Regions from separate parts of the Homo sapiens genome. Here region 2 is linked to region 1. The links are contacts of gene promoters, found by promoter capture Hi-C in blood cells and fetal thymus (Javierre and others, 2016). All regions are on one chromosome and are shown on one strand. Each heading gives the region's core, a stretch centred on a gene start or on the middle of the fragment in contact. The rest is flanking DNA. Distances are from core to core; before and after follow the strand shown.

Region 1 (4,641 bases), core at 1,373-3,872:
AGCTGGGATTACAGGCTCATGCCAACATGCCCGGCTAGTTTTGTATTTTTAGTAGAGAGTGGGTTTCACCATGTTGGCCAGCCTGGTCTTGAACTTCTGACCTCAGGTGATCCACCCGCCTCGGCCTCCCAAAGCGCTGGAATTACAGGCGTGAGCCACCACGCCCTGGGATCTTATATGTAGACAGCATCCTGAGTTCGAATGCCCTGTCTGCAGTGTCAACTATTAATCCTGTGCGGGAGAAGCGGAATCCACTTGGCCGAGCGGCTCTGCAGCTGAGATTGGAGGTGGCGTCTGTTTACACTGACGCCAAAGACCCGAACTTCCGCCGCTCCAGTTTGACCCTTTCTTCGTCCCTAGAATGTTTGGGGGCGCTAGCGGGTGGGGCTGGGTTCCAGGTCTTCTTCGGGTGGTGCTTAAAAGCCCTCCAGGGGCTTACCCTCCAAGGCCGGTTACCCGGATCTGGACACCCTGGGCTCTGTGGCCAGAAAATCCAGGTCTTGATTTCGCTTGGGCCATTGCAGACACGCAGCCAGGTCGACTGGTCCTCATTCACTCCGGTCATGCAAAGACAGAGGGAAAACCTGGTTTGGATTATCGGTCACCCGTGGCTCGGGAGGGCAGGGCTGCCCTTTGGCCCCGCCTATATGTTTGTCCGTTGTACAACGGGGTGGGAGGACGCTGTGGCCCATCCTCTGTCATGCAGCATGTCCCTCCTTAATAACGCCTGTTCTCCAGACTTAGTATTTATTGAGCACTTGCTATGTGCTAGGCACCATGCTAAGGGGCTAGGCATCTGCATCAACTCCTAAGATCCTCAAGGAGACACGGGACTATTGGAAGGTCATTTGCCAAGGTCATAAAAAGCAGAATTGAGATTTGAACCTAGGCTTTTTGCTTTTAGAGATCCTAGAAATGTCTAGGACATCCCTCATTTTCCTTTTGTTGGAGTCCCCTCCAAAGGCCTTTTGAAACTCTCCCCCAAATCTTTCCACCTGCAGCCCCACTCAGTTTCCTTCCTTCCACCTCACCCTGTGGATAGAAAACTGGCTGGCAGGTGTTGCCCCTTGTACCCCATTCCTTTCCTCAGAAAAAAGCCAAGACCCCATATCTCCTGATCCCTACAGTGACTTCCTAAGAGCTTGACAAATGGAAGGTGACCTTCTTCAAATGCAGACACATAAAGTTAATACTCACTAATTATTATTATTGTCATTATAAAAAATGACTATGCGGCCATCACCTGAATTTCCATTTTTATTTTTTTATTTTTTAAACTTTTTATTATTTATTTATTTATTGTTAATTGAGAGGGTGTCTTACTCCAGCAGTGGTGCAATCATAGTTCACTATAACCTCGACCTCCTGAGCTCAAGAGATTCTCCCACCTCAGCCTCCGTGGTTCCCATTTTAAATCTCAGTTGTGAGTCACTCTACTTACCTACCCCCCACCCCCTACCCCAACTCTATGACTCTAGCTGGGAGTCAGATAGATCTGCTGAGGTGTAGATGAGTCATTCATTCTTTCAACCTTTCATTCATTCAACCTTTCATTCATTCATTGAGTACGCTAAGCTTATTCCCGCCTCCAGGCCTTTGCCCTTGCAGTTCCCTCCACCTGGAATGCTCTCTCCACAGATCCTCCCATGGCTGGCTCTTATCTTTCAGCAACCAGCTTAAAAGTCACCTCCACAGAGCAGCCCTGTCTGACAATGTGTCTCCATCCTAGCCATTGTCCATCACATCACCCTGTTTAATTTATTCATAAGACTAATTATTGTCTAAAATGATTTCGTTCACTTCTACACTAATCTTGTTTAATGTCCCCTTTACCCTATAAATACTAGTCCCAAAAGGCCAGAAACTTTTTTTTTTTTCTCCTTGAGACAGAGAGTCTTGCTGTGTTGCCCACGCTGGTGTTTCCTTGGACTCAAGCGATTCTCCTGCCTCAACCTCCCAAGTAGCTGGGACTAGAGGTGCACACCACCACACCGGACTTGTAATTTATTCACTACTGTGTCCCTAGTGCCTAGGATTGGGTCAGCATACAGTAGGTGCTCAAGACATATTTTTCAAATAATGATTCCTATTTCATTTGCACAAACACACGCTGATATGCCAACTCACTTGCCTTTATATGGCGCCCCGCCTGTGTACGTGGGCCTCTGTTGGTCTCTGAGGGTCAGGAGAGGAATCACCCAGGGATCCTCTCCCCCAAGAAACTTGGCCCGCAGTGCATGGCCAAGGGTGAAAGTGACAGTGCTGAAGAGGGGCCTGTCTTACCCTGCTTCTGCTCCTCCAGGGAGTTGATAATGCTTGTGGGCAGCAACGGCAGGTCCACGCTGACCTTCATCGTTTTGCCCCTTTGCCTTCCAGAAGGATTTGCCCCTGCCCCGGAAAAGCAGCAGGTGAGCCTGGGGAGAGACGTGGCGGGGGCTGGCCGCCCCTTCTCCCGCCGGGGTGGGGGCGCCAGGCGAGTGCGCGGGCGGGGCCTGGCTCGCCGGCACGCAGCAGCGCCCCCTCCCGGCCGGCTGCAGCCGCAGGGCCCTCCCCTTCCCTGCCCTCCCCTGCCCGCTGCGGCGGCTGCAGCCTCCGCCCCGCGCGCTTGCTCCCCGCGCCGCCGCCGCCGCCGCCTCCGCCGCTGCTGCCGCACCTGCCACCATGTCGCCGCCGCCGGGTCATGTCTGACTCTCTCTGGACCGCGCTTTCTAATTTCTCGATGCCCTCCTTCCCCGGCGGCAGTATGTTCCGCCGCACCAAGAGGTAGACCCCCGATCCCCTAGACATTGTCCCGGCCCTCCCCGCAAAAGCCGCCGCTCCGGGTACTGCTGCAGGGCGGGGCCCGGGATGCTGCGCCCGGTCCAGCTGCGCCAGAGGTGCCCCAGCTGCGCCTTCCCGCCGGGGTTGGGGTTGAATGGGGGGTGGTGTGGGCCGAGTCTGGGGGGCTTGCACGCTGGAGAGGACGGCCGCGGGGGGAGGGGGCTGCGCCACTGGGGGTTTGTGGCGCCTTTGTCTGCTGGCGCTGCGGGCTCCAACAGCCTGGTGGGGGTAGAGGAAGAAGGGGAGGCTGGGGGGCTTGGCACCCTCAGAACAATAGCCGCAGCCTGGCCTCCCCCCACCCCCATGCCGCGTGCTCCTGGACGCGCTAATATGCTCAGTCACTGCGGCTGTGGGTGAGGGGACGGACGGAGGGGCTTGGGGCTCCCTCTTCGGGAGCTGGATGCTGAGGGGTAGAAAAAAGGGGGGGTTTATCATAACACAACCCCCCCCCCCGAACACAGCCTTACACTGAAAATAGTGACACACAGCGTCACACAGGACATGATGTCACACACATACACACAACAGCCCTAGTGGCCCAGATACACTGGGAGGTGCCACACATACCTAGCCTTGCAGCTGCCACAGGTCAGAACCATGCACAGACACACAGGGGCACCACGTCGTGTACACCTAGTAAGATGTCACTTACATGGCGATCCACACACACACAGTTATGTCATCCAAGATGCAAACATGTGTTTCAATATCCCATCCATGCATCCAAGAATGTCACAACACACGATGTCATATCTAGGTATCTCACATACTATGTCACACTGACATCAGGATAAACAGATGTAGGGATCTTGCAGAGACAGAACCACGCAAAATCACATGTTATCACATTGCAAGACTCACCTAGAGAATGTCAAATGTGGTGACATGTTTGGACACAGTGTCACAAGATGTTAAATTCACACAATAGATGCTACATACACATGGACAAGCATGGTGAATGTCACACCCAGACGGAAGGACAGTATCGGACACAGACTCAGAATGCCACACAAAGACATAGATACATGTAGGGGGGATCATGCATCCTGGCCAGGCATGGTGGCAGGCACCTGTAGTCCCAGCTACTCAGGAGGGTGAGGTGAGGCGGGAGGATTGCTTGAGCCCAGGAGTTTGAGGCTGCAGTGAGCCACTGCACACTGCACTCCAGCCGGGCGACAGAGCGAGACATTGATTTAAAAGAAAAAAAATAATAATAATACAACCTGCCTGTGTTACAGCACACATTGTTATGGACAAGTGGCATTTCACACTGTGTCACATAGACACACAAATGCTCAAATTGTATCACACAAGATAAACCCACGTTGTGTCACACGTATCACACTAGAATGCATTCAGCGTCACACATTGTTGAATTCATACAGTGGATACCACACGTGGATACCTACAGTGAATGTCACGCATAGACTGAGACACGCTCAGTATCACCAATGGTGTCACCTAGACACAGTGACTATCACACCATGACAGACACTGCCCTACACATAATCCATACTGAGAGTTTCTCACACACATGTCATATGCACATCCCCTGCCGTACACAGTCCTGCCGAGGCCTGCACCACCTTTCTTCGAGAAACCCTCCCAGGGAGCCTCCAAACACACATGGATGGGAGATAGGCGGGGATCTGAGACAGGAGGTCAGCTGGTGGGGCTCAAGAACTCACTGGGCTGCGGCCCGGCCCGGCCCCCCTGCCTTACCTTCCCCGCAGCTGCCGCACCAGTAATCGGAAAAGCCTCATCCTGACCAGCACTTCACCCACGCTACCGAGACCCCACTCCCCGCTGCCAGGTCACCTA
Region 2 (4,641 bases), core at 1,530-4,029, 150 kb before region 1:
ATTTTTTGTATTTTTAGTAGAGACGGGGTTTCACCATGTTAGCCAGGATGGTCTTGATCTCCTGACCTCGTGATCCGCCCACCTCAGCCTCCCAAAGTGCTGGGATTACAGGCATGAGCCACCGTGCCCAGCCGCTGAGCTTTTTTTTTTGATGCAGGGTCTCACTCTGTCACCAGGGCTGGAGTGCAGTGGGACAATCACACCTCACTGCAGCTTCGACCTCCTGGCCTCAAGTGATCCTCCCACTTCAGCCTCCCCAGTAGCTGGGACTACAGGTGCATGCCACAGCTCTTTAACCATAAATCAAACATGTCACTGTTAAAACCTCCTAATGGTAGCTTCCCCCTGGGAGTAAAATCCAAGCTTTTCACAGTGGCCTTAAAGGGCACCTCTCAACCTCCCTGCTGCCATCTCCCACCATGCTGGCCCTCCCTCCCTCTCTCCTCTCCAGCTACACAGACCTCTTTGCTATTCCTGGAACCCACCAAGCTCTTTTTTGTCCAAGGAGTCAGGTACTTGCCGCTCCTTCTGCCTAGAACACCCCATTTCTCAGTTCCTTCTCCTCCTTTGGGCCTAAGTTCAAATGTCACCTCCTCTGAGAGGCCTGCCCTGACCACTCCTCTCCCCTTTACTTTGATTTTATTCTTCTTTCATATGCCCTTTCACATGTATACTCTTTCACTGAGTACATTTTCTGTTGTCCATCCCTGCCTAACTAGAAAGGCAGCTCCATGAGGGCAAGGTTTTGTCTTGTTTCATTGCTAATTTGGGTTTTTGCACAGTGCTGGGCACATATTAGAATCTCGGGGCAGGGCTCAGTGGCTTATGCCTATAATTCCTTTGGAAGGCCAAGGCAAGAGGATCGTTTGAGGCCAGGAGTTCAAGACCAGCCTGGGCAACATAGTAAGAACCATCTCTACAAAAAGTTAAAAACATAAATTAGCAGGGCACGGTGGCTCACGCCTATAATTCTAGCTAATCAGGAGGCTGAGTTGAGAGGATCACTTGAGCCCAGGAGTTTGAAGTTACAGTGAGCTATGATTGTACCACTGCACTCCAGCCTGGACGACAGAGCGAGAACCTGGGCTTAAAAAAAGAAAAGAAGGCCAGGCACGATGGCTCACACCTGTAATCCCAGCACTTTGGGAGGCCGAAGCAGGTGGATCACTTGAGGTCAGGAGTTCGAGACCAGCCTGGCCAACATGGTGAAACCCCTTCTCTACTAAAAATACAAAAATTAGCCAGGTGTGGCCGGGCGCAGTGGCTCATGCCTGTAATCCCAGCACTTTGGGAGGCTGAGGCAAGTGGATCACCTGAGATCAGGAGTTCAAGACCAGCCTGACCAACATGGTGAAACCTCATCTCTACTAAAAATACAAAAAATTAGCCGAGCATGGTGGCACATGCCTGTAATCCCAGCTACTCGAGAGGCTGAGGCAGAAGAATCGCTTGAACCCAGAAGGCGGAGGTTGCAGTGAGCCGAAATCACGCTATTGCACTCTAGCCTGGGCAACAAGAGCGAAATACCATCTCAAAAAAAAAAAAAAAAAAAAAATTAGCCGGGTGTGGTAGCATACGCCTGTAATCCCAGCTACTCAGGAGGCTGAGGCAGGAGAATCACTTGAGCCCGGGAGGTGGAGGTTGAAAGTGAGCTGAGATCGCACCACTGCACTCCAACATGGGTGATAGAGCAAGACTCTCTCTCAAAAAAAAAAAAAAAAAAAAAAAAAAGAACGAAGGCATTGGAGATTTGAGCCTGAGCAGTGGCGACAACAGGAGGAGAGGCAAGGCTGCATGTTGGAGATGGCAGAGGCTGACAAAGCAGATGTGTTGGGAACAGTTAGCAGGAGATCCAGCAGGCCAGGGGGAGGCCAGGGCCTCCTCACTCCCCCAGCCAAGGCACCTAGCCCACAGGGACCCAGGTGACACATGACACCAGAGGAGCCACAGGGCCTCCTGGGGCAGGGACCCCCTCAGCCGAGGCAGCAGCTGCTGCTGCAGCTGGTGACATTTCACTCCATGAGAGCCCTGGCTTCAAAGTCTTTGCAGGGGTAGCCGAGGGAGAAAAGGGGGTTGAAGAGGACAGGCTGGGTTGGGGAGGGAGCCACAGCAGGGTGGCCACCAGAGGACCAGGCAGCCAGAGGTGACTTGGGCCGGAGCCCTTAGCCGAGGTGTGTGGGCCTGATGGGTCCAGGAGCAGCCACCCTCATCCTGCAGCCCCCAAGGAACATAGAAGGAGGTGTGGGAACCCTCGGGCAGCCCTAGGCTCCCCCTAGGGGACTGAGGTTGGGCCTGCTGCCCACGGCCTGCCCACTTTACCCAGATGTCCAGCAAGGTGGCCATCAACAGTGACATTGGGCAGGCCCTCTGGGCAGTGGAGCAGCTCCAGATGGAGGCAGGCATCGACCAAGTGAAGGTGAGGGTCGGGGCCAGTGCAGGAGGCGGGAAGAGGTGGGAACACATGGGCCAGGGGACAGGTGCATGCCTGGGTCTGGTCTGGCTGAACCAGTTGGTCTGCAGGTGTCCAAAGATGGCCGCCGATCTGCTGAAGTTCTGCACGGAGCAGGCCAAGAATGACCCCTTCCTTGTGGGCATCCCGGCCGCCACCAACTCCTTCAAGGAGAAGAAGCCCTATGCCATCCTATGAACCCAGGGCAATGCCACCCTGTGGCCTGGGCAAACCAGGGGGCCTCAATAAACATGAAGTGAATACTTCTCAGGGCATGGCTGAGCTGGGCTGAGATGGGAGACCAGAGGGACTTTGGGCTTGCAGGGGCCAGGTGCGTACCTGGCCCAGCCTCCCTCCCTGCCTGCCCCCGGGGTCACAGCCACAGCAGCACACACACACCCTGGAGCCCCAGACGGAGAGCACGCCATCCCTCTTGCCCTCGCCAGCACCCATGGGATAGCCTGAGCAGGTACCCTTTCCCACCGTGCAGACAAATGGCCAGGATTTGAGTCATAATCTATACACCACACGCGTCACACATCACACACACACGTGACATCATAGACACAGATGCCCACGATCCTCAGGACTCTCCCTCTTCAAATGCACAGCAACAGCTGACATGCACCCCCAGCCCAGACTTGCTATCTCTCCCAGTCACTCCCATGCAGGCCCGCAGCCCCACAGCCCCAAGCAGGCACAGGCAGAACCCCAGCAGGCAAACCACACTCACACTCCAGGCCCAAGCACCAACATGTCAGGTTTATTTCTCCTTCGCTCTCAACTGAGAGCGGGGCATCCAAATCATAACAAAACCAGGGCCCAAGAGTGGGAAGCGGCCCCCTGGGTGGGCCTGAACCCCAATTTCACCCTTCCCCCGGGCATAGGGCCCAGGCCAGGACGCTCACCCGAATGTGGCTGGGACTCCTTGTGCCCTAGGCCCACGGGGCGGAGGCAGCACCAACATTGGGGATGGTCCCCCAAGAACAGAGGAGGAAGCCCAGCCTCCGGCAGGCAGTATCCACATCCACGCCCACCTGCTCAGGCCTGCAGCCTCCAGACCTCTAGCGACAGGTCTCCAGAGCCGGCCACCACCAGGTTGCCCTCAGCACAGACCTGGGAAGGGGGAGGAACATGAGGAGTCAGGGACGATGGCGCTCTGGCCAGCTGGGCAGGGCACATGGGGCAGGACCTTACCCTATTGAGCCCATTGTCATGCCTTCGGGTGCAAATGGTCCTTGGTGGGTCTGTGGGCACGTGCACCTAGTGAGGGGCAATGGGCGAGGTCAAGAGGTGTGCCCCTGGCTGATGGAGGTAGGGGAGAGGCAGGGACTGTCCTGGGGTGGGGGCTGGGCAGGAGCCTCACCCGGATGGTCTTGTCAGTGGATGTGGTGTACAAGGCTCCCACGGAGTACTGGATCCCAGTGATGGGAAAGCTGTGGCCCACATCAAAGGACTGCAGGAGGAGGATCAGGCAACACTCAGTCGAGGCTCTCCCAAGGCCCGCCCTCCCCCACACCACCAGGGGCTCGGGTAGGAAGGAAGCCCGGGGGGAGGGACAGTCAGGGGCAGGAGCTCCAGCAGACCCGGATAAGCTGGAAGCAGCCGTTGCGGTTGGCGAAGACGTGCAGCAGGCCCTGGTTGTCACCAGCCCAGAGCTGGGGTTCCTGGTAGGACATGCAGAGCAGGTAGGAGTCCAGCTACGAGAGGGACAAGGGACGGGACAGCTCAGGCCGGGCTGGGCCTGCAACAGTCCCCATCCCTCCAGGCCCCTGGGGAGGGCCCACCTGCAGACGCTGCAGGACGCTGTTGGCTCGGCGGTCCACCACCACCAGGGTGTGGTCCTCGCTGCCTGAGATGATGTGCCGGTCATCCGCCAGCAGGGTCAGCACGGGTCTGGAGTGTAGTTGCTGGTGCTTCAACAGGGCTGGGCCGGCTTCATGGGTGATGGGCCGGTGAGGAGGGATATCAGAGCCCCTCGAAGGCCCCCCCCAGCCCATGAGAGCATCCCGGGTCTCCATCCTGTCTGGCAAAACCCTCGATCTGCTCATTCCCCCACCCCACAGAGTGACCCATCTCTCCTCTCCCGCCTCAGGTAAATCCAGGCTTCCACAGGAGCCCCAGGCCTCTGCCCATCCCCGTCCACATCCCATATCCCTCCTCCGATCCCATCTACTGTTCTTAGCACAGAG

What was found. The method cuts DNA at HindIII sites, captures the fragments that hold promoters and counts their contacts. A CHiCAGO score of 5 or more calls a contact.
Region 2: a contact is called between a fragment that was not itself captured here and the fragment with the promoter of MAST1 in region 1, in 3 of 17 cell types (erythroblasts, megakaryocytes and monocytes). The highest score is 8.1, in erythroblasts.

Annotation. Positions count from the first base shown.
Region 1 is chr19:12,835,893-12,840,533 of GRCh38, forward strand. MAST1 (microtubule associated serine/threonine kinase 1) reads left to right here and starts at 2,623. Exons shown (of 26, transcript NM_014975.3): 1 at 2,623-2,763; 2 at 4,554-4,641. The coding sequence starts at 2,681. RefSeq lists silencers at 2,236-2,419, 2,424-2,603, 2,654-2,703 and an enhancer at 4,610-4,641. The HindIII fragment of the contact is 9,607 bases long and covers 1,574-4,641 here.
Region 2 is chr19:12,685,726-12,690,366 of GRCh38, forward strand. GNG14 (G protein subunit gamma 14) reads left to right here and starts at 2,273. Exons shown (of 1, transcript NM_001316692.2): 1 at 2,273-2,697. The coding sequence starts at 2,324. The coding sequence ends at 2,647. It overlaps FBXW9 (F-box and WD repeat domain containing 9), which reads right to left. Exons shown (of 10, transcript NM_032301.3): 6 at 4,237-4,385; 7 at 4,036-4,149; 8 at 3,816-3,905; 9 at 3,647-3,712; 10 at 3,191-3,565. The coding sequence ends at 3,491. The HindIII fragment of the contact is 4,836 bases long and covers 362-4,641 here.